Regions from separate parts of the Homo sapiens genome. Here regions 2, 3, 4, 5, 6 and 7 are each linked to region 1. Evidence: promoter capture Hi-C in 16 types of primary human blood cells and fetal thymus (Javierre and others, 2016). All regions are on one chromosome and are shown on one strand. The core of a region is centred on a gene start or on the middle of the fragment in contact, and the rest is flanking DNA. Distances in the headings are between cores, read along the strand shown. Region 1 holds the start of EXOC5 (exocyst complex component 5). Region 2 overlaps SOCS4 (suppressor of cytokine signaling 4). Region 3 has its middle 3.9 kb from the start of CGRRF1. Region 4 holds the start of CDKN3 (cyclin dependent kinase inhibitor 3). Region 5 overlaps CNIH1 (cornichon family member 1). Region 6 holds the start of GCH1 (GTP cyclohydrolase 1). Region 7 overlaps WDHD1 (WD repeat and HMG-box DNA binding protein 1).

Region 1 (4,158 bases), core at 91-2,590:
TTACTCAATGTGAAACACAAGCACACACACAAAAAAGGGGTCTTTCTTTCCTTTTTCTTATCCGTTTTCATTTCTTTCACACAAGGAGATGCTTTATACGTGTCATTGTTTTGTAGCCTAATTAGAGTTTTCCTATTCTATTATCTCAAACTTTTATCACAGCTTCTTACAACGGACTTCACGAAATTAAATTTTAAGGTTTAGATACTGTAAACGCTCGAGGAAAGACATTAGTATTCTCACTATTACATATTAAGGATTCTCTAGCTTGCAGTTAGGTGATTTTATAATACATGTAAATGCATATAATACACTTAAGGTGCATTATATACATGAAACGAAGTGTTCGTTTTATTTTATAAACTTTTTTTATTTTATAATACACGTAAATGCCTCGAGTGTATTATTATGTATTACATGAAATAAAGTGTTCACTTGAATTTTGCCTCCCTTCAGTCTATCTCTCTTCAGTCGAAAGAGATAAGTAGGCCTTTATTGTCCAAAAAAAAAAAAATTGTCCCAGCCTTTTCAAATGTCAGGTTAAACTGGCAGTCCTATGAATGCCACCTGCAACCTTACTAATGGAATAATTACTCAAAACGAGAAGCCCCCAAGAGTCCCGATCTCAAGTGGCTTCCTCCTATTATTCCCGCGAGGACCCCAGCGACAAGACTCGCCCAACCTGAGGCTCCTGGCTCTCTTTCCTCGTCCTGAGTCAGCCCTTCCCACTACTCATCCGGAGTAGACATCTTCCAACACCCGAACCTTCCAGACTTTCCCTCTTGCCCCCACAAACAAAAGCAACCCTCCTCCCTTGGGACACCCGGCTTCCCCTCTCTGCCGACCGGCCGCCCAGCCCACCTCGGCCCCAAGCACCCCTCCCCCATTTCACGCTCCGCCCGCGCTGACACGGAGCTGCCACCCCAACCCTTCTGTTTCGCACCTCTCTCCCGAGGGCTCCTCCTGGGCAGCCAGCAAACGCCCGCTCCTCGGCCCGCCCACCCAGCTGCCTGCAAACCCCGGGCCTGCCACTCCCTGTAGAGCCGCCGGGGCCCACCTCGAAGAGCTCGGCCGTGGTAGCCATCCCGGCCGGCTGAGAGGCTCGCCCCCCACTGGATGCCGTCTCCGCTTCACATGCTGCGCCTCAGAGGCGCGGCGCACAGGTCTCCGCTCGGCTCGCCAGCTCCGGCTCCGGGCCGCTGCGGGCTCCCCAGCTCCCCACAGATCCCAGGAGGGGCGGGAGAGCGGCCATGAAGCGAAGCCGCAAACGCTTGTCAGCTGCCTCCCGGCGCCGCCCGCGCTGCTCCCATTGTCACCGCCTCATACGCCGGAAGTGGAACTGCGCGCGCCAGGGAGGTTGTCGGGAGGGGCCGGCGAATAAAACGAGCGGCGAAAGAACCGAAAAAAGGCTCGACGCTACCGTGTATGAGGAACTTTGATCCTTGCGGGCCACCATTCCGGAAGTAGAATTTAGAGGAAGAAAATACCGGAGTTGCAGGGTATAGGTAAATTTCTCAAGGTTATAGGTTGGGGTTCTTAGAACTTTTTGTGGTGTGTGTTGGCCTAGAGCGACTCAGAAGCGTTAGTGACTTCACCTAAAAAAGCTAACCTCTCTGCTGAGCGCGACCGGTATGCGGCGCAGGATGAGCCTCAGGGCTTCTGTTAAGAGTCTGTCTGAGAAAGCCGGTCTGCGCTGTTCCTCGGTGGCGACCTTAATTATGAGATGAGCTAATGCTTTACTGACTTAACCATGGCGCAGCGGGCAGTGTGGCTCATAAGCCACGAACCGGGAACTCCACTTTGTGGCACCGTGAGATTCTCCAGGTAAATGCAAATCTGAATCCTCAGGGATGATGGATCAGAAGATCGATGAAGTAGCATAGTTTTGTGGTGCTTCGTGGCCCAGGTTTGCCACGAATAGCTGCGTGACCTTGGGCTAGCCAGTTAACAGACCTCTGTTTCGTCTGTTAAATGGAGATTTTAATAGTCCTACCTTACAGTGTTGTGAGAATTGAGTTGATGACTGGTACATATTATTTACGGTATATGTTTTCTATTAGTATTGTGTTTTAAAATGACCTCCGTCTGCTTAGAATTAAAATGGAGATGACTAAGGGAACGGTAGAAAATTTACTGAGCACTAAACATTTTCAGATTTTTCAACATGCATTGACAAAATCGTTCCAGAACATTTTAACTTATTCTACTGAAAAATCCATGCTAAGTTATATCAGACTTTTATTTTTTTGTTTTTATTTTTTTGAGACGGAGTCTCGCTCTGTTCCCCAGGCTAGAGTGCAGTGGTGCGATCTCCGCTCACTGCAAGCTCCGCCTCCCGGGTTCATGCCGTTCTCCTGCCTCAGCCTCCCGAGTAGCTGGGACTACAGGCACCCGCCACCACGCCCGGCTAATTTTTTGTATTTTTGGTAGAGAGGGGGTTTCACCGTGTTAGCCAGGATAGTCTTGATCTCCTGACCTCGTGATCCGCCCGCCTTGGCTCTCAAAGTGCTGGGATTACAGGCAGGAGCCACCGCGCCCCGCCCAGGCTTTTATTTTTATCTTGTTAATATGTGTCAATGGTAGAAATCATCAGTTTACAGTTCCTAATTGTTGAAGAAAATAGAAACACAAAAAAATGTATTCACTATTTCATATATTGTGTTAAGTTGATCTGGTCCCACTATTAGAATTTGCCCTGTGTAATCAAAATAGCTCTGTTAAGGGAATTGTACAGTAACTCATTGTAAAATGTTGGTGGCAATCGAGTGGGTCTATTTCACCTTTTATTCTCTGGCCATTGATAGTTCTTTTTTGTCACAATTCGTTCTTCCCTGAAGAAAGCTTATAGTGAAGTAGTACCATAGTAGAATTGAGATTGAGGCAGAAAAAAAAGATTTTAATTTTAAATGAAAATTGGTTGGCAATGGGGATATGAAAAATTCCTTCTTTGCAACCTTAACAGTTTTTGTTCCTGAGGGCATCAGAGTTGGAGTTTACCATTTCCCCCCAGGATTTCTGGCTGACACTAACCCCAACATTTGTTGTTGGACCTCAAATACAGGAGATTAATAATATTCTTTAGTACGTGGTTTTACCAGGCGCATCAGTCCGTACAAAGTATCTCTCATTTTACTTATATTCCCTTTGGTTACCTATTTCTAACTGCCGTTCCCTTCCCACTGACAGATAACTCTTAACATCTTCGATGTTACTCTTTTTCATTGTATGCATTTTTCAAATTACATAATTAAGTGTGCTTTAGACTTCACTTCCTAATGTTACATTTGTCACATTTCTCAACACTATTTTAAAGAAACATCCATGATACTTTGTGTTCATCTAAGGCAGCATGTCCAATAGAATTCTCTATGATGATGGAAAGGAGAAATGTTCTTAATCTGTACTGGCTAATACTGTAGCCACTAGCCACAAGTACCTATTGAGCTTTTGAGCTGCAGCTAGCATAACTGAGGAACTCAATTGTTAATTTTGGGTAATGTTAATTGATTTTTATTTAAGTTTAAATAGCCACATGTGGGTAGTTCTACTATGTTGGACAGTGCAAATCTAGGCCATTGTTTCTTCTTGCTCTGTAGTACTCATGGTTCACATCCTACACATTTACCTGTCCCCTTTACCTAGTGATGACCTCTCCCAAATTTGCCTCCAAAGAACACTGCCAAAGTATGCATCCTCAAATCTGTCCATGGGGCATGTCTATGCCGATTTTGACTAAAGACTGCCAAATAATCTGCTCCACAGAATGCTTTCAGCCACCTACGCACTCACTAGCAGCAAGAAGGGGTTCCCGTATCTCCATTCTTTCCTAACATGTAATTTTTGCCAATAAAGAACATCTTATTTTCGTTTGCATTTCTGTATGTAGCAATGATTGTTAGTCCTTTAAGTTTCCTCTACTGTGAATTGCCTGTACATGTCTTGTCCTTTTTTTCTTTGAAAGTTGCTTATTTTTTCCTCTGAATTTGTAGGAGTTTGTTTTGTATTCTTGGTATTAGTCCTATGTCATTTTTAGATAGTACAGATATTTTCTTTAATTTACCATTGTCAATTAACTTTATGTTGCCCTTGGTTAAACAGAAATCACTAATTTTGATGCAATCAAACTAGTTAATTGCTTTTGGGAATTTGTTGAAGTTT
Region 2 (3,915 bases), core at 489-2,988, 2.2 Mb before region 1:
CAGCTAAAACGAAGAAATATGGAAGAAAATATAAACTGTTTCTCACATACCAATGTTCAGCCCTGTGTCATAACCACCGACAATGCTTTGTGTAGAGAAGGTCCTATGACTGGCTCTGTGATGAACCTGGTTTCAAATAACAGTATAGAAGATAGTGATATGGATTCCGATGATGAAATTCTAACACTTTGCACAAGTTCCAGAAAAAGAAACAAACCCAAATGGGATTTGGATGATGAAATCCTGCAGTTGGAAACACCTCCTAAATACCACACGCAGATTGATTATGTCCACTGTCTTGTACCAGACCTCCTTCAGATCAATAACAACCCATGTTACTGGGGAGTGATGGATAAATACGCAGCCGAAGCACTACTGGAAGGAAAACCAGAGGGTACCTTTTTACTTCGAGACTCAGCACAGGAAGACTATTTATTCTCTGTTAGTTTTAGACGCTATAGTCGTTCTCTTCATGCTAGAATTGAACAGTGGAATCACAACTTTAGCTTTGATGCACATGACCCCTGTGTCTTCCATTCTCCTGACATTACTGGGCTCCTAGAACATTATAAGGACCCAAGCGCCTGTATGTTCTTTGAACCACTTCTATCCACTCCCTTAATTCGGACTTTCCCTTTTTCCCTGCAGCATATATGCAGAACAGTTATTTGTAACTGTACAACTTATGATGGCATCGATGCCCTTCCAATTCCTTCTTCTATGAAATTATATCTGAAGGAATATCATTATAAATCAAAAGTTAGAGTACTCAGGATTGATGCACCAGAACAGCAATGCTAGTAACAGGATGGGAACATGGGAATGATAATATATATTTTTTCTTTTAATATTTTATTTTTCTTTTTATGCCACTTTGGATTTTTCTACAAAGGCAGTGGTGTCCAAAATAAAATCTCTGCCCTAAATTTTACTAATAAATCCATTTTTCTAGTGATACACAAATTGTTTAAGGTTATACACTCGAGCTTAAATAGATATTTTTAACCAGGTGTTTGGTTTTTGTTTTTACCGTGTAGGTTGTATACTTACATTTTTTCTTTCCTTAATTTATACATGATCCTTTTTCCTTAATTTATACATGATCCAGGCACATTTGAAATTTGGTAGGCATTGCAAACACATTTGAATATTGTGTATTTCATACTATTCTTTAAAAGTAATCTTATGTCCTTTCCTACATGTAAAATATTTTGTTAATCTATGCCATTAGTAGTATTATATATAAAATATAGTTCCCCGTCCCCCTTTTCATTGAGTTTGATATTCTTCAGTAAAGCTGAATGTTGTAATTCACCATTCATACTAATGTTATTGACTTTTGTAACTTACTAATAGGGATGTTAAAAGTAACAAAACCAAGTCAAACTTGGTGTATTTTTATTTTAAATATTAACTCTAAAGCAGGATTACTAAATTTGATTAATCTGGTCAATGAGAATCAAATGGAAACATATCATTCTGGAGGTGCACTTACTCTTCTACAATGTGGCCGGATCATTTGTCATTCCTGAATAGGTCTTTCTCTCAACCTGCAAGAGCTAAACCATCTTCAAAACATAAATCTTGTTCCTTTCTCATTGGAAGCTTTGAAAATAATGATAACACTATTAGTAGCTAGTAGTTACTAAAGTGCTAAAGTAATTGTGGGGTTTTTCTGTATTAGCTTATGAACTGTTGCTTCTACTTAGCCCTTTTATAGAAACTCTGAGCTGTTACTTTGGGGAAATTCCACAATGTATTAGCAGCCACAAATTTCCACTGGTAACCAAAGAGTACCTAAGTAGTTTTTCATTATTTTAAGTTGAATTTGAATAAAGATTCCAGAAATAAACATGGAGCTCAGTATTCAGGAAGCTTAATACTGTTTTTGATCTACAAGATCCAAATAATTATCCCTATCTTCAGAATTAACTTAGTCTGTAATGTGGCTTCAAAAAAAGAAAGCCTTTTGACAGCTACATGACTTACACCATACAGAACAGTACTGGACAAAAGGGGTGATATTTTAAATTTACTATCCCAGAAACAGGGCAACGTTTTTAGAAACATCTTTAGCCCAAAGTAACTAGTAAAAATAAATGGAGTGGTATCCTATCTTCTTTTTTTAAGGAATCAATGAATAATAAATGTAGATAGACAATTTTCTTCTGGTGAGCTGTCTAACCCTTTGTACACATTGACATTTTTAATATCGTAACTGATTTCTTGATGCTAGTTTAGCTATATTAGGAAACTGCTTCTACCTAGATTGAAAGAAATTTGACTCATAAACTTCCAAGTTAGAACAAATATTTCTTCATTATTGTTGCTTTTATGTGAGTAGCATTTCCCTATCTTGCAGTTCTGTTAACATGAAAATGGCATTTTTCCATAATAGCTTTAAAATAATTTTTTAGTAATTATTACAAAATTAAGGAAAATCTCTATTACCGTTATCTTTTAGCATTTTTTTTTTCCTCAGTGATCTCAAGATTGTCTTAGTCTCAATGAGATGTAGCTACAAAAATGGCACCTCTTAGCAGTGATGAGGCTCAGGATATCGGATATCATAACACCAATGTCAGGATAAATATCTCTTCTAAAGACGATATTTACCTTTTACAAGGTTAGAAAAGTCTCATACTACCTCATCTTTATTGTGGCGCTTTTGTAGATCACTGAGAAGCTTATCTTATTAACCAATATACCACTTCCTAAATATCCATCTTTGGTGAAAGAAAATAGTGTGGTAAGAGTACCCATGATTATAGTTTTTTATCAGAATTTGATAAGATTTTCTGTTTCTGTGAAACAATTATTTTAAATATTTTTCTTTTAAAAATAACTTTTTATCAGTACAGAAAAACCTAAGGGATGACTAGCTTACAAATATTCTGTTAAGGGGTAGTTTTATAAAGAAAAATGATATATAGTTATGTTGTCTTTTATAGTGTTAAAATTAGTATTTATATGAAAGTCAAGATCTAAGTACCTTTTCATATAATTCAAACTGATTGCTTGTGATATGTTTTCTCTGGCTTTTTTATTTTTTCAACTTCAAGGTATTAACAGCTGTTAACACTTAAAAAGTACTGCCACATATGTAGCCTTGAAGTAGTTGATCTAATAAATGAGAGCAGGGAGGAGATTCATTGACTCTGAAATGATTTTTATTTTTCCTTTGGTATTTGCTACAGTGAAAAGAAGTTTGGAAAGTAGATACATAAAGACTTGAGAAGGGAATTGTTTAAGGGAAAAGAAAAGAGTAATAATTTTTTTTAAAACATTAAGGAATTGGAATTCAGAAAGGTTACCCCCTTCCTCTGTGTCTTTGTAAGGATACATTTGGAAGAACATACAGTATTCAGAAACTAACCTATATAAAATGTAAACAATATATTGATTGCACTATATAAATGAGTAAATTTTGAGAGGAACAATGTGGGAATGTATAAATTTGTCTAAAATTTTATAACTGTTGAACAAAGGGAAGATTTGAACAGTGTAAATTCCAGAGTTGAGAAAGCATTTAGCATGGTGGAAATGTGGAGAGCTTATTGGTGAGAGAGGATGGAGCTAAGAGAAATAAGATCAAATATTAAAATTAGGAATTTAGGCATTACCTCAGGGAAAAGCCTTGACAGTGAAAAGAAACTACTTAATCGCTAATAGCTAGTCTGGACCAGACACTTAACTGCGCTTTGGGAATCATCCTGGGCTAATCAGGAAATAAACTTGACTTTTCTATTTTTCTCTGAAGCTTTACAGGACATACTCCCACTCCCATTTTTTTCTAAGCCTACAGCATCTTGATTCATAGTATAATTCCTGAAGTATGCTGAATGGACTTTTTAAGGTTCCTTTAGCATTTTTGTATAGAGTTATATGTGATCTTTCTATAACCATGCCATTCAC
Region 3 (3,910 bases), core at 666-3,165, 2.8 Mb before region 1:
CCAGTTTCTCATGTTTGAAACTCAAATTTAGGACCCTTATTATTTATATTCCTACCTATTTATATTTCCAAATTGAGATCTGACCTTCTGACCTTCCAGGAAAGAATGTGGACTATAGAAAGACAATATGAATGAAAGGGTTGGCAGCTCCAAGGCAAATAACATAAGGGAGATTATAACTTTCAAAAACATGTTAATATTTTTGCATTTCTTGGCCAGGCTCGGTGGCTCACACCTTTAATCCCAGCACTTTGGGAGGCCAAGGCGAATGGATCACCTGAGGTCAGGAGTTTGAGACCAGCCTGGCCAACATGGTGAAACTCCACCTCAACTAAAAATACAAAAATTAGCTGAACGTGGTAGCTTGCACCTGTAGTCCCAGCTACTTGGGAGGCTGAGGAAGGAGAATCGCTTGAACCTGGGAGGCGGAGGTTGTGGTGAGCCAAGATCATACCACTGCACTCCAGCCTGGGTGACAGAGTGAGACTCCGTCTCAAAATATATATATATATTTTTTGCATTTCTCTTATGGGACCTTCTCCTTGGTCAGTCAGAAGCATCTATCAGCATCAAAGGATAAATAGAACTGTGATGTCAGAAATTAAAAAGAAAAAGCTAGGCTGGGTGCGGTGGTTCGTGACTGTAATCCCAGCACTTTGGGAGACCGGGGCGGGCAGATCACAAGGTTAGGAGATCGAGACCAGCCTGGTCAATATGGTGAAACCCCGTCTCCACTAAAAATACAAAAATTATCTGGATGTGGTGGTGGGCACCTGTAATCCCAGCTACTTGGGAGGCTGAGGGAGGAGAATCACTTGAACCCAGGAGGCAGAGGTTGCAGTGAGCTGAGATCATGCCACTGCACTCCAGCCTGGGCGACAGAGCAAGACTCTGTCTCAAAAAAAAAAAAAAAAAAAAAAGCAGCTTTTGACTTCTAAAATAAGATGTTTGAATCTCAAGAAACACAGTCATCTTGAAAAAGCCTGACACTACCAAGAAATAAAGGCTTTATAAACTTTTAAAGTTCAGTTAACATTTCAAAATCAAGACCTTGGCAACAGTAAGAGTGGTATTTAATGTATGCCATACGGCAGGGAAAGTGAGGCTATGACATAAGGAAAGTACCTGCCAAGTAGGAGGGTAGGAAAGTCTTCTGCTTGTGATCTGCTGGAGTGTGGAGAGGAGAAAGGGCTAGAGCAGGTGCAGCATCATATCCACCCGTTCTGGCTTCCGCCTTGTTCCGTGAAAAGGCCATAAAAAGCTGAAGGAGCAGAGAAACCAAAGAAGGAGGCAGACAAATCCAGTTTGTTGGTTTTATGTGATTTATTAGGGAAACTTACAGACAGAAATGTTGTCTTGGGCAGCCGCAAGACAATTAGATCTTCGCACTACAACACCCCAGACCCAGGGCTTATATCTTGGGAAAAGAGCATATGTGCTCTGGAAGGAATGTGTAGGTGGCTATGGGTGTCAGAGGAGAGCCTATGATTTCTGTAACAACAAGGGTTGTTTTGGAGGAAACTTAAAATGAATAGATGTTCCTGTTAGAGAAACCCCTGCTTTTCAGGCCTCTGGTTTAATAATGCATGAACAGAGGGACTCCATCTTGAGTGAGTAACTAAGCACTCACAAGGCTTATAAGGTTAATACTTCTGGTCGAAAATAGTCACATCTCAAGCTGACCACCACTTATAAATGCAGAGTATTTATAACCATACAGAGCATCTCCCACCAAGCCTTCAGAATGCCCAGATGTCCTAAGAGTGCAGCCCACTTTGCTTAAAGATACCATTAACTAAGAGGCTTGGGTTGAAGGATTGATTAATGGTCACCTGTAACACCAATAGCCCCTACCTTTAGTGAGCACATCTGCATGTTCCAAGTTTAATATTGCTCCTTTTAGTTTCTTATAAGTATAGAGGCACTAAAAAAGAATGGAATGTTCCTTCTCCTGCTGAAGACTCCTACTTTGTAACAGAGTAGTTTCCAATAAACTTGCTTATTTCACTGTTCTCTCTGACTCGCCTCAAAATCTTTCCTACACGAGATCCAAGAACCTGCTCTTAGGGTCTGCATCGGGACCATCTTTTCCAGCGATGTTTCTACATAAAGAGTAAGTAATCCCAGCACTTTGAGAGGCAGTGGCAGGAGAATCACTTGAGCTCAGAATGTTGAGGCTGCAGTGAGCTGTGATCATGCCACTGTATTCCAGCCTGGGTGAAAGAGCAAGACCCTGTCTCAAAAATTAAAATAAAATAAAGACAGTTTTGTCCCCACATCCCTCCAGGCTGGAATCTCAGGGAAGCAGGTGGTTGTAGCGGAAGCACCCAAATAGGTGGGGTATTGGGGCTGGGTGCAGTGGCTCACGCCTGTAATCCCAGCACTTTGGGAGGCCAAGGCGGGCAGATCACTGAGGTCAGTAGTTTAAGACTAGCCTGGTCAATGTGGTGAAACCCCGTTTCTACTAAAAATACAAAAATTAGCCAGGCATGATGGCGGGTGCCTGTAGTCCCAGCTACTCGGGAGGCTGAGGCAGGAGAATCTCTTGAACCCAGAAGGTGGAGGTTGCAGTGAGCCAAGATTGCTCCACTGCACGCCAGCCTGGGCGACAGAATGAGACTCTGTCTCCAAAAAAAAAAAAAAAAAAAAATTAAAAAACAAATAGGTGGGGTACTGGAGAAACTGAAGAGATCGGAGCTGGTAGTCCACTTTCCCTCTAGGAAAGGAGGAGAGGCCTTACATTTGGCTTGCTTCACACCACCTTCACCATGGTGCTAGAGCAATGGCATTCAGTGGCAGAGGTAGCCTGATTGGGCATCCTGAGATAACTGCTGCTTCTCAGTAGCCTGCATGTGACATATGTGAGAATCTACATGTTTACATATTGCCCCAGTAAGTAACATTGGAGATGGTAAGCAGTCTGGTGAGCTAGTGGAGCTAAGGAGCCATAGCTTATGAGGGTTTTACAACCAGAGGTAAATGGCTGGAACCCTGGATCTCCGCAGTGAGGGCTGGCCTGGTACCACAAAAAGCCAGATGAAACCCGCTTCCCCTTAGTGAGGACCTACAGGTGTCATGCAGAGCTGAGGTCTCATTTTCCTGACCTCCACCATCAGGTCATATGAACACCTTGTACAATCAGATACTGTCTTGGGAAGAATCAAGAGAAGAGAGAGGAGAGACTAAACATTTTCCTAAAGGAGACCAGCTTCCTAAAAGGTGCAATTAAACTTGAAGAGTCTAAGATACTTTTTTTTTTTTTTTTTTTTTGCCGGAATCTTATTCTGTCGCCCAGGCTGGAGTGCAGTGACACAATTTCAGCCCACTGCAACCTCCACCTCCCGGGTTCAAGCAATTCTCCTGCCTCAGCCTCCTGAGTAGCTGGGATTACAGGTGCCCGCCATCATGCTGGGCTAATTTTTGTATTTTTAGTAGAGATGGGGTTTTGCCATGTTGGCCAGGCTGGTCTCAAACTCCTGACCTCAGTTATCTGCCCACCTCAGCCTCTCAAAGTGCTGGGATTACAGACGTGAGCCACCATGCCCGGCCTAAGATACTTTTTATTGATAAATTTAAGCTCACATTGTCTTCTCTTTTTACCCCGTCTAATAGTAGGGTGGGGCTTCTTTCTTTTTCTTCTTTTTTGAGACAGGTTCTTGCTTTGCTTTTTTTTTTTTTTTTTTTGAGACAGCGTCTTGCTGTGTCACCCAGGCTGGAGTGTAGCGGCACAATCGTGGCTCACTGCAGCCTCAACCTCCCTTGCTCAAGCAATCCTTCTGCCTCGCCCAGTTAATTTTTTAATTTTTTGTAGAGACAGGGTCCCACTATGTCGCTGACGCTGGTCTCAATTCCTGGGCTCAAGCCATCTCCCTGCCTTGGTCTCCCAAAGTGCTGGCCTTGGTCTTCCAAA
Region 4 (4,060 bases), core at 1,124-3,623, 2.9 Mb before region 1:
CCATACGAGTGCGGAGCCCACCCAGCTCGCGCCCACCCAGAACTCGCGCTGGCCCTCAAGGGCTGCGCGCAGCCTCGGTTCCCGCCCGCGCCTCCCTCTCTCTCCACACTGCCCCGCAAGCAGAGGGAGCCAGCTCTGGTCTCTGCCAGCACACAGAGGGGCTCCCACAGTGCAGCGGCGGGCCGAAGGGCTCCCGAAGCGTGGCTAGAGTGGACGCCAAGGCCGAGGAGGCACTGAGAGCGAGTGAGGGCTGCTAGCACGTTGTCACCTGTCGATAGGTGCACCTAAATACGGGTTCATTATTTGACCAAAGGCGGGATTCTACGTCTAGACATGCATACCCACCTACATTCTCTTGTACACAGTACCATGGCCGTTTCTAATATGAAATGGAAACCTACATATCAAAACAATAGCTATAAATACGTGGTGGGTGTGGTCTGTTCCTTAACCCTACTAAGGCCTTCATCTGAGGAAGCAGATCTATATTAAAAGAGAGCAGTATTTCCCAAGTAGCCCTTGAGTTCACACAAAAATTTTGTTTTCTAATTTGGCCTTTGATTTGATTTTGTTTTCTAATTTGGCCTGAGATAATCAGCCAATATGGTCACCATATTGAACAGCACAGATCTAAAAGGATTTCCCGAGTATGGAAAATCTCTGTGGGTGTCTAGGATGGTTAATTTTGTGCATCAGCTTGACTGGGCCATGGTGCCCAGTTATTTGGACAAACATTATTCTGGATGTTTCTGTGAAAGTGTTTTTGGATGAGATTTGCATTAAATTGGGAAACGTTGAGTAAAGCAGACTGCCATCCATAATATGGATGGGCCTCATCCAATCAGTTGACGAGCTGAATACAACAAAAGGCTGACCCTGCCCTGTGCAAGGGGTAATTCTGCCAGTAGACAGCCTTCAGACTTTACATGCAATATTGGCTCTTCTTTGTTCTACAACAGCTTTTGGACTCGAAGTACAGCCTTTCCTGAGTCTCCAGCGCACTGGCCTCCCCCCATCAGATTTTGGACTCTCCAAGCTTCCACAAGCACAGGAGCCAATTCCTTAAAATAAATCTGTTTCTATATCCATATATACACATCCTATTCATTCTTTATCTCTGGGCAACCATGACTAGCTAATACAGTCTCTAAATCAAACTGTGGTACCTTCTTTACTAAGGAATTCCTTCTAATAGCTCTATACCCATTGGCTTTCACAACATGAATCAGGGGTTGAAATTTCTGCATATTTTTCTCAGATCTGCTCCAGGCGACTTCCTTTCCCATGGCTAGTTAAATGGGGACTGGAGAAGGCGGAGAAATACTCACATTTTTAAAAGATTACAGCTAATTATGTAGACACACTGGCCCTTAGACCTATCTTACCTGGCATTTTATAATTTCCCTTTCACACAATATAATTTAATTCATATTTGGGGGACAGGAATATTGATCTACACTGTAACTTGTCTAGTTTCTGGAACGATAAACTAAAACTTCAAGCATATAAAATATGTTTATACTCTAAATTTTTAGTTTTTTCCCTAGTATTTGTATGTCTAGATATAATTACAAAGTCTATGTGATGTTTTTCATGTGACGATCCAATACAGTGCTTCCCTGAGCCCTTAAAAAATAAAAAATAAAAATACAACTTAAAGAAACAAAAACTCCCTACCGTAGCCGCTACAAGGGAGGCTAAGGCGGGAGGATTGCTTGAGGACAGGAGTTCGAGGCCAGCCTGGGCAACATAGTAAGACTTCCGTCACAAACACAAAAACTCCCAACCCGGGTTCGAGACCAGCCTGACCAACATGGAGAAACCCCGTCTCTACAAAAAATACAAAAATTAGTCAGGCTTGGTGGCACATCCTTGTAATCCCAGCTACTCGGGAGGGTGAGGCGGAGACTCGCTTGAATCCGGGAGGCGGAGGTGGCGGTGAGCCGAGATCGCGCCATTGCACTCCAGCCTGGGCAACAAGAGCGAACTCCGTCTCAAGAAAAAAAAAAAAATCACCTCCCAACCGTATGGACCACGCTGACATCCTGCCATCAAGAAGCAAAGCTTTCCAGCGTCCCCCAAGCGCTAGGGCCGCCTTCTGACTCTTCCGCCCCGCCTCCGCCCCCTGCACTCTCCCAACTGGCGGGAGGAGGGCGCCCTCCCAGCCAATCAACGTCCCACAGGGCCCGCCTCCCGCGCGTCTTTCAAAGGTCTTCTAGGAACCAGTCAGCGATTAGAGGCCGAGTCTTCGGCCACCCAAAGGCGGAGTAAGAAACCAGAAGCGGATCTGATTGGTTGCTGGAAGACGCCGCGCCCACCTCACAGAAGGACGAACCAGTGAGCTAAGCTGCGGGGCGCGGGCTCGGCCGGGGCACCGGTGAGTCGCCGGCGCTGCAGAGGGAGGCGGCACTGGTCTCGACGTGGGGCGGCCAGCGATGAAGCCGGTGAGTCGGACGTGCTGGGGTTTGGAGGAGCGAGGCGGCAGGGACGCAAGCGGTCCCGGGGACCCGATCCTGGGCCGGAGGGCAGCCCTAGCCTGGTAGCAGTGCGACTGGCGCCGTAACCGTTCTGCGGGTCGGGGAGGTGACTCGCACGGGCCCAGCACGGGCACGAGAGACGAAGGAGCAGGGTCGGTGGCCGACGAAGGAAAGACGGACATTCGCTGTGCACCTGCTGTGGGCTGTCACCTGTCCCCTGCGGGGTCTCATAAGCCTCCCAGCCGCCCAGCCAAAGAGGGCCGAGCCTCGTTGTACCGAGGAAACCGAGCCGAAGAGCTTGAGTGTCAGCGATGAGTGGGCGCGATACCCCAGCCCCGAAGGGTGGCCGGGCGCTACCTGCGCCCACAGGGCCTGGGGAAACCTTGAGTACGAATGCCACGCCGCGGCTTGTGGGCGACACCACCGCTGTCACCATGCCCCAGGGCCACCTGGCAATGCTGCTCTTTTCCCGTGACGTTCAGAATCACAGGGCCTGGGGAAGCAGAAACGTCCAGCTCTGTTAGGATTAATAAACCTGGTGAATGGGCCACACAAATTTGAAATATGAATCATCAAAGTTGCTTTAAAGAAAAAACAGATGCAGGCAAGGAGCTGAAGATCCCCCACCTAACCCATATTTCCTACTGCCCGGCTTGACAACCTACTGGAAGCCTTTCCTTTGGGTGCAGTTGATTATAATACTTCAGATAGAGCCAAAGCAACAGAAATCCATAGCCTAGGGCCGGGTGGTGTCTCGCGCCTGTAATCCCAACACTTTGGGAGGCCAAGGCGGGCGGATCACTTGAGGCCAGGAGTTGGAGACAAGCCTAGCCAACACGGTGAAACCCCGTCTCTACTAAAAATACAAACATTAGCTGAGCGTGGTAGTGCACGCCTGTAGTCCCAGCTACTCGGGAGGCTGAGCCACGCAAATAGCTTGAACCCAAGAGGCAGAGGTTGCAGTGAGCGGATATCACGCCACTGCCCTCCAGCCTGGGCGACAGAGCAAAACCCTATCTCAAGATAAAAGAAAGAAAGAAAAAAAAGTCCGTAGCCTAAATTAGCCGTCCTGTGATCTTCTAGTACCAAGACCGTTGTAGAATATAGCTTCAGAGCTAGAAAGAGCATTAGGTGCTTACAATTGCTAATCCCTATGTTGCCATGTGGAGGGACATCAGCTGTCCTTCACTCCTGGCCTCTTTCTCCACCTGTCCCCATTGAGTTATCTGATCCCCGAGTTTGGAAGGAACTGAACACCAGTATCTCAACTTTTTCTTTCCTTCTTTCTTGGGATCTACCTGCCTGCCTGCAGAAGGTGCTTTCTGGTCCACTCTCTGGCACACAGGAGCCCCAGACTGTCCATGGCCACCTGTGACTGGGTGGATACATTTGTCTAATTCTGGGGTGAACAAGGGGCAAGCCCACGTGGCAACAGCTTTAAGCTGCATACTCCATTTGATATACAATAATAAAACTCCATTTCTTTATCTTTCAATTGGTTTCAACTAGGGAGTGAGAAAAGGGTATGGGTTTTGTTCTGTTTTGTTTTTGTTTTTCTTTTTCTTTTGATTCCTTAAAATTTC
Region 5 (3,758 bases), core at 101-2,600, 2.8 Mb before region 1:
CCTTTCAATTACTGACCAGTCAGGCAAAATCAAATACACAGGCTAAAAGAGTATCTTCCTAAATGCAGGCAAAAATACAAAAAAACAAACTGGGTACCCTGGTGTGTGCCTGTAATCCCAGCTACCCAGGAGATTGAGGCAGGACGATCACTTGACCCAGGAGTTTGATAAGAGCCTGGGCAATATAGAGACACCCCCATCTCAAAAGAAAATTTAAAAATACATACATATATATTTTTTCAAAAACCCTAAGCACAATGGAGCTACATTATCACTAAATTCATGATGGCTCAGAACTCAGTGTAATTCAGGCCTGTTTTAGAAACAGAAAGTAGATACACACTAGAAATAACCACATAGACATTTGTATACAAATTGTTATCTACAAAATTATGGCACCCTAAGTCCAAAGAATGGCATTGCTGCGAGATCCCAGAGCCCCCAGAACAGAGCTATCCACCTAACAGGCTCTGAATAAACATCAGCTGAAAGAATGACTCATTTATTCCAGAATATGCAAACCAAAGATAAAACTAGATATGGCAGATAAGTCCATACTAAAGATTTCACTCACATACTACCTCACAATAAGTCACAACCCGAGAATCATCTCACCATCTATTAGTCATTTTATGTTAACCAACTTTCAAGTACTACACCAAATAATTTCACATAGAAGTGCCTATGGCTATAACATAAAAAAACGCATACGCATTTAACAGCTTTCCCTACTTGACTGGGCCAGCAAGCATATATTTGCATAAAATATGAAATTTCATGAAATCATAAACCTCAACAGGCATATGAACGAGCACACTGAACAAAACGTTACAAATACAAATGCCCTAACCCTCCCCATGAAATGAATATAGCATTAAAACATTTAACTAAAAAGCAGTACACACCTTTAATGCAATTTTGACTCTTTTAATCTTTTTGACCTTTTCAACTGTCTTTGGCCGACAATGTAAAAAGCAGATTGGAAGAATGTTAGTATGACAGCTGACAAGATCACCAGCAGATTAATAATAGAATAGTCAAGCACGACAGGAAAAAGAAGATTTTTTAAATTCTGCCTACTTCAAAAAGTACAAATATATTATGCTACTCAGAATACTGGCCATTTTCAAATTACTTCAAGTTAAAAACAAACATATTTTTAAAATCTAAAGATAAATCCTATATTATAACTTACGGGATTCAGGGTATTACACTGGTCTATAGGATTCTTGTAATCAGTCTTCAGCTCATCAAATGCTATAATCTAAAATAAAATTAAAACAGTTAGGACCACTCACTTTAATTAAAAGCAGCAACAAACCTGCCCCATCTTCAAATAATTATTAAAGTTAATAAAACAAGAACAAAAGTACACCAAGATCCCAAATACCAATTTACAGTAAACTCATATATGACAAAAAGAACCAGAATGCGATTTAAAGTGAAAACACTCTTATCTCAGTATCACTAAAATTTGGTATTACTGTAATAAATACCTTCAATTTTCAATTTCGTCAATGCCTCTGCTCAAGTTATTTCAACTTATCTCTACTCGAAATAATCTTCTGAGTAGAAAAATAATTTCAACTGTTTATCCAAATTCCTCTTTATCCTAAAAAAAAAACAAACCTTCCTAGGTCAACTTCTTTCTGCAGGCTTTCCTAACTCCTTTGGGCAGAAGTAATTGCCCACATCTCCACACAGCATGGGACTCTATAATGCCATCGATATGGCTTTTCTCACCCTGGAGTGTGGTATTTACACACAGGTCTGTCTGCCCCTCTACACTCTCAGGGAGAAGGACCATTTTTATTTATCTGTGCATGCTCCTCCTCCCTTGGCACAGTGCTCAGTGGGACACTAGAGATGGATTCGAACTCTTCAATGTGTTCCCATTGGTGCCCAAACACATACATTTGTAAGGATGCTTTTGTCCACACTCTGGAGGAATGTGGCTTCAACCTCAAGGGTCACTAGAATGTACATTAAGAGTCAAAATAGGGACTCTGCACCACTTTGTGGCATCATTTCAGGTGACAAAGAAAGAAAACAAAGGCAGCAAGTTGATGGGGGAGCCATTTTAGTTGCTAACACTACTCACCCCAGGGACACACAAACTAAGCTACCCTTCCCTTAATGAGTTAGGAATAGTATCTTTATATGTGAAAGTGTTGCTCAATATTATCAGTAATCAGTAAAGTTACATATTTCCATCTTTTAACATGACTGTTTATTTCCCTGTTAAAATTTAGATTCATAAAAAGACGGTTTTTTTAATTTCTAGAGTTCCATAAAATTCACCCACCTGCCCTAATAAAAACTCCAACCAAACAACAATAGAAGGAAAATAATAAAACATTAGAATGTAATCTCTGAAAGAACAAAGATTGTTGTATTTACTATTATGTCCCAGGGCCTAAAATATAAAATAGTGCCTGGCACATAGTTAAGTGTTCAATAAATATTAACTGGAAGGAGGGGGTGAAAAAAATAGCACTAGGGATTAAAAAAAAAAAATGCAGAACTCACCAGGGGGATTTCCCTTGGCTAATGACACCTAACACAAATGTTAAAAACATACATGTGTAATTAGAAAATACTAATTTCTGATTACTTATGGACGTTATTAGTCTGCTACTTGACGTCAGCCGTGGTATATAACCCCAATGCATTTTAGTAATAAAGCTCAAGACAAGGATGATAATCATAAGTACTTGTCTATAACAAGATCCAACTTAACAGAATACAAAACTTGTCTTTAAAACTGACATTTAATTGGACATTTTCTCCAGGTGACTTCAAGGGTTTTTTTTTTTTTTTTCTTGAGACAGGGTCTTACTCTGTCACCCAGGCTGGAGTGCAGTGGCACAATCTCGGCTCACTGCAACCTCCACCTCCTCGGCTCAAATGATTCTCCTGCCTCAGCCTCCGGAGTAGCTGGGACTACAGGTGCATGCCACCATGCCTGGCTAATTTTTGTAGTTTTTGTAGAGATGGGATTTTACCATGTTGCCCAGGCTGGTCTCAAACTCCTGAGCTCAGGTGATCCACCTGCCTTGGCCTCCCAAAGTGCTGGGATTACAGGAATGAGCCACTGTGCCTGGTCACAGGGATTTTTTAACTATGTTGTTGAATGGGTTTCTCTTTGAGTGCTATAGGCTAGGGTTTTCGAACCTCTTCTGAGAATATTCTTAATGATTTTCAAATCTTTTTGCAGCTATGTGGCTGAGCAAAGACACCCACAAAATTTCCTACAGAAGTATAACAAAAATAAAACAGATAAATCCCTAAAGATGCCCAAGTACACAATTCAGAATACCTTCCAATTTAATACACATCTTTAAGGAATGACTTTTAAGCTTTTAATTTTTCAAACAATCTATGCTCCCGACTCTATTCTCCACAGAGCATCAATGACATGAATTAGGACTAAATTGACAGATATAATCATCAGCATAAAAAACATTCTCTAATACAGTGATTAATGTAAATAAGATTTTTGGAATGTAATTTAAAAATTGTAAAATGAGTCTTCTGAAAGATACTTCAACTACCTGCTAGAGTTTGGTTTAACTCCTCCAAATCTCAGGTTGAAATCTGATCCCCAATGTTGGAGGCGGGATCTAACGGGAGGTGTTTGGGTCATGGGAGCAGATCCCTCATGAATGGTTTGGTGTCATCTTGGAGGGAATAAGTGAGTTCTCCTGCCATTAGGACCCAAGAGAACTGGCTTGTAAACAGCGCCTGGCACCTCCCCC
Region 6 (3,841 bases), core at 207-2,706, 2.4 Mb before region 1:
TTTTAAACACAGACCAATACTGCTTCTCTGGCCAACAGGCAGCAAAGTCCCCATTTTCCACTCTCCATCACCCCATCTTGCATCCTACCCACACTGATTGCATCCCCACCCTCTGGGTGAAAAGCCGACACGCCTCAGACGCTAACAGCACCGGGTCAACCCGGCTTTATTTTAGGGTGGGAGGGTGCGGGGATGAGACTGAGTCCTGGAACCCACGGAGCCCTCCGAATCCCGGAGTAGCTTTACTGCTTTTTGCGGGGTTGGGGGTGGGGGGAGGAAACAGATTTCAGCAGCAAACTCACCCAATCAACCTCACACCTCAAACTCCGGGGAAGCCCGTGCCCAAAATTGTGCCGAATTTTGTAAATGTCCTGAACTGGAGTAAACTTGAGGTGGACAAAAAAAAAAGCACAACTCTAAGACTCCGATCCCCTGGCAAATCAGTGGGAATGCAGGTCCCCGAGGTTTCGGGGAAGGATCGCGCCGAGGCTTCAATCCAGATACACACCCTGACAATGGGATCTCAATAAGGAACTACCCAGGAAGCCGTCGCCGCAGCAAGTGCCCAGGTGATCCTTATCGTGGGCAAGTTTGGAACCGCAGGTACCCCGAGAATCCCGCGCTGGGCGCTCAGGCGAGAGGGCTCCGGGCTCCCGTCCACGCCCACCCGGGGCGTTCTAGGAGGGCTGCGCGCTGGGAGCGGGAAGGGCCCCTGGAAGGCGGCTGCAGCGAGTTCCGGGGCTGAGAGGTCGCTGCCACCCAGGAAGCCCCGACTGTGCCCCACGCAGGGCCTCGGCAGGGCGGCAGGCTAGGGCGGGTTCGGAGGTGACAGCGCCCGGCTTCCTGCGCCAAAAGTGAGGCAACTCCGGAAACTTCCTGGAGCCGGCGCGCGTTTCCTGCAAGCACCGCCCCCGCCGCCCGCACGCTCTAGCAGCCCGCGGGCGCACTGACCTGAGATGGTCTCCTGGTAGCCCTTGGTGAAGAACTGCATGGCCGAGGCCGCCCTCCAGGGCGTCTTGAGCAGCCCTTGCCGCTGGGGGTTCTCGCCCAGCGAGCTCAGGATGGACGAGTAGGCGGCTGCCAGGTTAGGGAGGTTCAGCTCGTTATCCTCCTCGCTGCGGGGCCGCTCGCCCTTCCAGCCGTCCGCGGGCTGCGCGCTCTTGGCCTCGGGCCGCGGGGGCTTCTCCGCCGGCCTGCTGGGCCCGGGCCGCGGCGGATCCCGCTCGGGGAACCCATTGCTGCACCTGGCGCCCCGCGGCTTCTCCGCCGGTGCCCGCACAGGGCCCTTCTCCATGGACCCGCCGCAGCCGCTGCCGTTCGGGAAGGACCCCGGGGCGCTTCGAGGTCTGCGGCTAAACTCCGCCGGTGGCCGCGGACAATGGGCTGTGGCCGGAGTCACCTGAGGAAGGTACGCAACCTGCTTAGATCACACTCCGAGCCGGGAGCGGCCACAGGCTGGAAAGCCCGGCCGCGCCTCCTTTTTATGGCCCGGCGGCTCAGCCTGCGCCGCGGAGCGCTCCCATTGGCCGGCCCCGCCTCGCGTCACGGCCCTCGCCGCGCCCCTCGGCCTCCCGCCCCCGGGGTCCCCAGCAGGGGTCGCGGCTCCGGAGACGCCCGGAGGGGTTCGCAAGCGCAGGGAGGGAAGGAAAAGGGCGCCGGCCCCTAGGATCAGGCGGGACCCCTCCACTTATTGCGGAATGAGCCGAACCCGAAAAGAGGCAGTCGTCCAGGAGCTGGGATCTCAGTGAGAAAGACGCGGTCTGGGCGCCCAGTCGCCCCCTCTTCAGGCCAAGAGGGCGCTGCATTGAAGGGCTCCGGTCCCCTCGCCCTGTGAAAGATCAGCAAACAGGTGGCCTTGCCTGGAGAGAGACCGAGTTAAGCCACCGATTAGGAACCAACTCTTAAGCTTTCAAGGCAAGAGAATAATGTGACTTCAGACTCTTGGGTTTAGTTAAAAACGCACCTGCCACCTAGGGGCCAGGTGGCACCGCTGTCGGGGCAAGTGTCACATCAAGTGGCCCTTATGTGGGTCCCTATGTCTAGAAGGATAGGATTTATGGTTGCTAGAACTTTGATCCTGGAAAAATTGATTTGCAAACGAAGATAGGACTTTCACTTAAAATCCATTTCCGTCGGTGGCTCACGCCTGTACTCCCGGCGCTTGGGGAGACCGAGGCGGGAGGATCGCTTGAGGCCAAGAGTTCGAGACCAGCCTGGAAAACATAGCAAGACCTCATCTCTATAAAACCCATCGCATTTTCTAGAAACGCAGTTGTGCAGATTTGGTGCTCAATTGTTTTACAGTTCCATGCAAAGCGTCTTTCCCCAGATGTTGGTACAAATTGTGAAATGCTATTCACCAACTGAACTCTTAACCAGTGACATCTGCTGTAACTGTTTTCTTTGAGATTAATAAATGGACCTTTTTCCTCACTTGAGGGATTATCTCATAATGCCGAAGGTGAGCTTTAAAACATGTATCAAAATAATATTTTTTTTCTTTTTTTTTTTTTGAGGCTCACTTCATCCTCCGCCTCCTGGGTTCAAACGATTCTCCTGCCTCAGCCTCCTGAGTAGCTGGGATTACAGGCACCTGCCACCATGCCCGGCTAAATTTTTGTATTTTTAGGAGAGGTGGGGTTTTGCCATGTTGGCCAGGCTGGTCTCGAACTCCTGACCTCAGGTGATCCACCTGCCTCGGCCTCCCAAAGTGCTGGGATTACAGGTGTGAGCCACCATGCCTGGCCTAATGTAGATTTTCTGACATAGAAGCAGGTATTAATAGGCTTAGGATCAAACAAACCAATAGGGAAGCCTGTGGAATTATTCTATGCTAACAATGTAGCTTGGTCATTATAATAAGTAATTAGTATTTATGATACATCTGCTCTAGGCGCAGCCCCGTTGGAAACATTCAGGAAAGAAATATGGACATTGCCTAGCCTTGTAGGCACCTTTACTCCAAAATGGAAGAAATGTTCATATCAGTGGGGTTATTTATTTATTTATTTATTTATTTATTTATTTATTTTTAAATTTTAATCTATTTATTTAAGAGCGGGTTATGAGACTGGCTAATTTTTGTATTTTTGGTAGAGATAAGGTTTCACCATGTTGCCAAAGCTGGTCTCGAACTCCAGGGCTCAGGATTATAGGCCTGAGCCACCGTACCCGGCCCAGTGGGGTTTTTAAATAGAGAATATGAACATCCTTTGGAAAACCTCTTTGTCATTTTCCTCTTTATTAAAATTTTTAAATTTTTTATTGTAGGTTTTTATTGGGAGTGGGGCCCTGCAACATTTTTTTCCTCTAACTGTGCTGCCCACTGTCTGCTGATACCTCCTGGTCAGAATTATCTGCTGGGTCTCAAGCTATTTCAAGCATAGTTGAAGACAACATTCAAAGGATGACCTTGCATTTAACAAATGAAAACAAAGATACTAAGTGAGGTACTTTAAAAATGGAGAGAGTAGATAGAGATGCTTTCAGTACGAATTTATTTTTAGTGGCAATCTTTCGTCTTCCTTTAAAAACATGTGTAAAGATTAACTAATATTGTATTCCACAAAGACAGTTTCTAATGAAATTTTTACCCTAAAAATTAACATTTTCTTACACGTATTGCCACTGAGGCACCTGCACCTTTGTTGCAGGACAGGGCCTCTGGATACATGCTAACTTGTAAAATGGAGGCAGTGCCTTTCGGCCAAATGCCCAAAAATAATACAAGAAAACTTTGAAATCACCAACATTATATGAATAATTTAATAGTAAAATGTAGATAGTTGACAAGGATGGTTATAAGTAGCAACAGGAGAAAAAAAGAGGAATAAACCAAAAG
Region 7 (4,079 bases), core at 1,525-4,024, 2.2 Mb before region 1:
GTCTTCTGCTAACTCTTCGGTTTAGTGTCTATTAGCGTTCCTTTTTTTTTTTTTTGGAGACAGAGTTTTGCTTTGTTGGCCAGCCTGGAATGTGCAGCGGCACAATCTCGGCTCACTGCAACCTCCACCTCCTGAGAGAAGGTGGAGTGTGGGATTACAGGCGTATGCCAACATACCCAGCCAATTTTTTATGTTTTTGGTAGAGACCGGGGTCTCATCATGTTGGCCAGGCTGATCTCAAACTCCTGACCTCAAGTGATCCATCTGCCTGGGCCTCCCAAAGTGCTGGGATTACAGGTGTGAGCCACCGCGCCCAGCCATGTCTGCTACCTCTTGAATGTCTCCAAGGTCTATATCTTGAAATTACTTCGCTCCCTTATCTTTTTTGCCATACCCACAATCTCCTTCATGATTTCCTTGACTGGCTCTGCTGTCAATCTTAAGTCATGCACAACGTCTGGACACAGTTTTCTCCAGCAGGAATTTGTTTCGGGCTCGATGGCCTTCAGAGCTTTTTCTATAACAATGATGGCATCTTCAATGGTATAATCCTTCCAGACTTTTAGGATGTTCTCTCTACTGGGGTTCTCTTCCATAGCAATGACAATCCTTTCCATAGATTAGTTTATGTAATGAGCCCGTAAAGGCCTGTATGAACTCCTCATCTAGAGGTTGAATTCGAGACATTGTGTTTGGGGGCAAGTATACCAGTTTGACACCTTCAGTATTGAACTTATGGTGTTCTGGGTGGCCAGGGGCATTGCCCAACATTAAAAGAATTTTAAAGGCAGTCCCTTACTAGCAAGATACTTTCTGACTTCAGGCACAAAGCATCAGTGAAACCAATCCAGAAAAGAAGGTTCTCATTGTCTAGGTCTTTTTGTTATACAACTAAGAGACTGGAGTTTATCTTTTCCCTTCAAGGCCCGGGGGTTAGTAGCTTTATAAATAATGGCAGTTCTGATCACAAATCTGATTGTATTTGCACCAAACATTAGAGTTAGCCTTCCTGCCTTAAATCTTAGTGCTCACTTTCCTTCCTTACTAATAAATGTTCTTTGTGGCATTTTTCCCCCCACAGAATAGGGCACTTTAGTCTACATTAAAAACCTGTTCACCAGCCTGGCCAACATGGCAAAACCCCGTCTCTACTAAAAATATAAAAATTAGCTGTGTGTGGTGGTGTATGCCTGTAATCCCAGCTACTCGGGAGGCTGAGGTAGAAAAATCGCTTGAACCCAGGAGGCGGAGGTTGCAGTGAGCTAAGATCGCGCCACTGCACTCCAGCCGGTGAGACAGCTAGACTCCATCTCAAAAAAACAAAACAAACAAACAAACAAAAAACCTGTTCAGGCAGATGTCCTTTCTCCTCAATGATTTTCGTAATGGTGTCTGGGAATCTGCTGTCTCTTGGTCAGCAGAAGCTGATTCTATTGCCATCTTGACCCTTTCTCTTTCTTTTTTTTTTTTTTTTTGAGATGGAGTTTCGCTCTTGATCCCCAGGCTGGAGTGCAATGGCATAATCTTGGCTCACTGCAACCTCCACCTCCCGGGTTCAAGTGATTCTCCTGCTTCAGCCTCCTGAGTAGCTGGGATTACAGGTGCCTGCCACTGTGCCTGGCTAATTTTTTGCATTTTTAGTAGAGACAGGGTTTCAACACGTTGGGCATGCTCTGACCTCAGGTGATCCACCCACCTCGGCCTCCCAAAATGCTGGGATTACAGGTGTGAGCCATCACACCCGGCCATCTTGACATTTTCGAAGCCAAATCTCTTTCTGATATTATCAAACTATCCTCTGCTGGTATTAAACTTTCCAGCTTTAGATCCTTCACCTACCTTTCACTTTAAGTTGTCAGATAATGACTTCACTTTTTCTGGAACCACATTAGAGTCTATAGCTATGCCTTTCTATTGCAATCCTATACCCACATAAAAGCTGCGTTTTCAATACAAGATAAAGTTATTTCACAAAAAGTGCAAGGTTTTCATGCCTGCTGGCATAGCTGCAGTAACAGTGTCTCAAATTTCCTTTTCACAGTGGTCCTTACACTGGATTCATTTATCTTGAAATTGTGAGCAACCGCAACTGCAGACCTCAATCTACAGTACATTATCAGGCAATTCAACTTTTCTCTCTTAATGTCATGACTTTTGTCTGCTTCTTAGGAGTATGTCCAGCATCACTAGTGGCACTTCATATGATTCCCATGGTGTTATTCAAAGTTTACGGCATTGGACTAAACATGATGAAAAATATATGAGAATCACCAGAGATGTCTTTTTACTGGGATAGGCAATTTACTGGAGAGACAAACTGCTCATGAGCATCATACAGTGTTTTAAGCAGATACAACCTCATACAGTGTTTTAAGCAGATACAACACTTAAGCTTACCGAAATAGCAACAGGAGGTGGCTATGAAATTATTACAGTAATACAGTATATACTACAGTTAATTTTATGTAGTGACGATTTAACACTGCATCTTTATGTTTGTTTACATTTCTCTTGACTGCGGATGGTCTGGAAATGTTTGAGTGTGTAAATTTTAGTACATTTCAACTTTTTATAATAGATTTGTGTATATTTTATGGTAGTAAATGATAAAATACGCTAGTATCTACATAGATTTTATGCACTCATGACATACTTTTTCTTAATTTTTCCATATTTCTAGGCTACATGGTTCGTCTGCTAGTTTTTTCAAATTGTTAGAAACTGCCAAAAATTTTCTAATATGTGTATTGAAAAAAATCCACGTATAAGTAGACATACACAATTCAAATTCATGTTAAGGGTCAATTGTATATTTCTATCTCTAGCTCACATTTTTCTCTGAGCTTGAGACACAATTATCCAACTGTCTACTTTATCCCTCTAGGTGAATATCTCAAAGAAATCCTACAATAATCACATCCAAACGCAAACTCAATCTCCACCCACAGCTCTACCTCTGAAATACGCCCTTCTTCAAGTGTTCCTGTTATTTGCAAGTGGAAGCATCACTTTCTCAACCGTAACATTCAGAAATGTAGACGTTATCCCTGTTGCCTCTTTCTCCATCCTTAATATCTGATCCATCCTGTTGACTTTATCTTTTTAAATATTTCCTGAATGTTTACTCTTTTCTACACACCCATGTTTACTCTAGTCCAAGCTTCTATCACACTTACCCAAACTTGTGGGGAAAAGCAAGAGAGATCAGATTGTTACTGTGTCTGTGTAGAAAGAAGTAGACATAAGAGACTCCATTTTGTTATGTACTAAGAAAAATTCTTCTGCCTTGAGATTCTGTTAATCTATAACCTTACCCCCAACCCCGTGCTCTCTGAAACGTGTGCTGTGTCAACTCAGAGTTAAATGGATTAAGGGCGGTGCAAGATGTGCTTTGTTAAACAGATGCTTGAAGGCAGCATGCTCCTTAAGAGTCATCACCACTCCCTAATCTCAAGTACCCAGGGACACAAAAACTGCGGAAGGCCGCAGGGACCTCTGCCTAGGAAAGCCAGGTATTGTCCAAGGTTTCTCCCCATGTGATAGTCTGAAATATGGCCTCGTGGGAAGGGAAAGACCTGACCGTCCCGTAAAGGGTCTGTGCTGAGGAGGATTAGTAAAAGAGGAAGGAATGCCTCTTGCAGTTGAGACAAGAGGAAGGCATCTGTCTCCTGCCTGTCCCTGGGCAATGGAATGTCTCGGTATAAAACCCGATTGTATGCTCCATCTACTGAGATAGGGAAAAACCGCCTTAGGGCTGGAGGTGGGACCTGCGGGCAGCAATACTGCTTTGTAAAGCATTGAGATGTTTATGTGTATGCATATCTAAAAGCACAGCGCTTAATCCTTTACATTGTCTATGATGCAAAGACCTTTGTTCACGTGTTTGTCTGCTGACCCTCTCCCCACAATTGTCTTGTGACCCTGACACATCCCCCTCTTCGAGAAACACCCACAAATGATGAATAAATACTAAGGGAACTCAGAGGCTGGCGGGATCCTCCATATGCTGAACGCTGGTTCCCCGGGTCCCCTTATTTCTTTCTCTATACTTAGTCTCTGTGTCTTTTTCTTTCCTAAGT

The links. The method cuts DNA at HindIII sites, captures the fragments that hold promoters and counts their contacts. A CHiCAGO score of 5 or more calls a contact.
Region 2: a contact is called between a fragment that was not itself captured here and the fragment with the promoter of EXOC5 in region 1, in 1 of 17 cell types (fetal thymus). The highest score is 8.4, in fetal thymus.
Region 3: a fragment that was not itself captured here is called in contact with the fragment with the promoter of EXOC5 in region 1 in 1 of 17 cell types (non-activated CD4 T cells); the score reaches 6.3 in non-activated CD4 T cells.
Region 4: a contact is called between the fragment with the promoter of CDKN3 here and the fragment with the promoter of EXOC5 in region 1, in 6 of 17 cell types (naive CD4 T cells, non-activated CD4 T cells, monocytes and 3 more). The highest score is 17.3, in naive CD4 T cells.
Region 5: a contact is called between a fragment that was not itself captured here and the fragment with the promoter of EXOC5 in region 1, in 2 of 17 cell types (total CD4 T cells and fetal thymus). The highest score is 5.3, in total CD4 T cells.
Region 6: a contact is called between the fragment with the promoter of GCH1 here and the fragment with the promoter of EXOC5 in region 1, in 5 of 17 cell types (fetal thymus, total CD8 T cells, naive CD4 T cells and 2 more). The highest score is 8.7, in fetal thymus.
Region 7: a contact is called between a fragment that was not itself captured here and the fragment with the promoter of EXOC5 in region 1, in 1 of 17 cell types (fetal thymus). The highest score is 11.4, in fetal thymus.

The regions. Positions count from the first base shown.
Region 1 is chr14:57,267,565-57,271,722 of GRCh38, forward strand. It overlaps EXOC5 (exocyst complex component 5), which reads right to left and starts at 1,341. Exons shown (of 18, transcript NM_006544.4): 1 at 1,058-1,341. The coding sequence starts at 1,084. It overlaps AP5M1 (adaptor related protein complex 5 subunit mu 1), which reads left to right and starts at 1,407. Exons shown (of 8, transcript NM_018229.4): 1 at 1,407-1,824. The coding sequence starts at 1,751. RefSeq lists a silencer at 772-831 and enhancers at 1,141-1,724, 1,372-1,571. The HindIII fragment of the contact is 4,317 bases long and covers 1-2,839 here.
Region 2 is chr14:55,043,564-55,047,478 of GRCh38, forward strand. It overlaps SOCS4 (suppressor of cytokine signaling 4), which reads left to right. Exons shown (of 3, transcript NM_199421.2): 3 at 1-3,915. The coding sequence ends at 801. Among named protein-coding and RNA genes, the nearest start is that of MAPK1IP1L, 6.1 kb to the right of the region's middle. The HindIII fragment of the contact is 270 bases long and covers 1,604-1,873 here.
Region 3 is chr14:54,504,067-54,507,976 of GRCh38, forward strand. No RefSeq gene overlaps it. Among named protein-coding and RNA genes, the nearest start is that of CGRRF1, 3.9 kb to the right of the region's middle. The HindIII fragment of the contact is 4,344 bases long and covers 1-3,910 here.
Region 4 is chr14:54,394,634-54,398,693 of GRCh38, forward strand. CDKN3 (cyclin dependent kinase inhibitor 3) reads left to right here and starts at 2,374. Exons shown (of 8, transcript NM_005192.4): 1 at 2,374-2,444. The coding sequence starts at 2,436. The HindIII fragment of the contact is 7,211 bases long and covers 2,063-4,060 here.
Region 5 is chr14:54,435,174-54,438,931 of GRCh38, forward strand. It overlaps CNIH1 (cornichon family member 1), which reads right to left. Exons shown (of 5, transcript NM_005776.3): 2 at 1,196-1,264. Among named protein-coding and RNA genes, the nearest start is that of CNIH1, 4.3 kb to the right of the region's middle. The HindIII fragment of the contact is 4,014 bases long and covers 1-3,357 here.
Region 6 is chr14:54,901,370-54,905,210 of GRCh38, forward strand. GCH1 (GTP cyclohydrolase 1) reads right to left here and starts at 1,457. Exons shown (of 6, transcript NM_000161.3): 1 at 952-1,457. The coding sequence starts at 1,294. RefSeq lists silencers at 642-701, 712-761, 1,172-1,811. The HindIII fragment of the contact is 1,914 bases long and covers 1-1,904 here.
Region 7 is chr14:55,021,367-55,025,445 of GRCh38, forward strand. The region is part of intron 2 of WDHD1 (WD repeat and HMG-box DNA binding protein 1); the gene reads right to left. Among named protein-coding and RNA genes, the nearest start is that of WDHD1, 3.7 kb to the right of the region's middle. The HindIII fragment of the contact is 768 bases long and covers 2,391-3,158 here.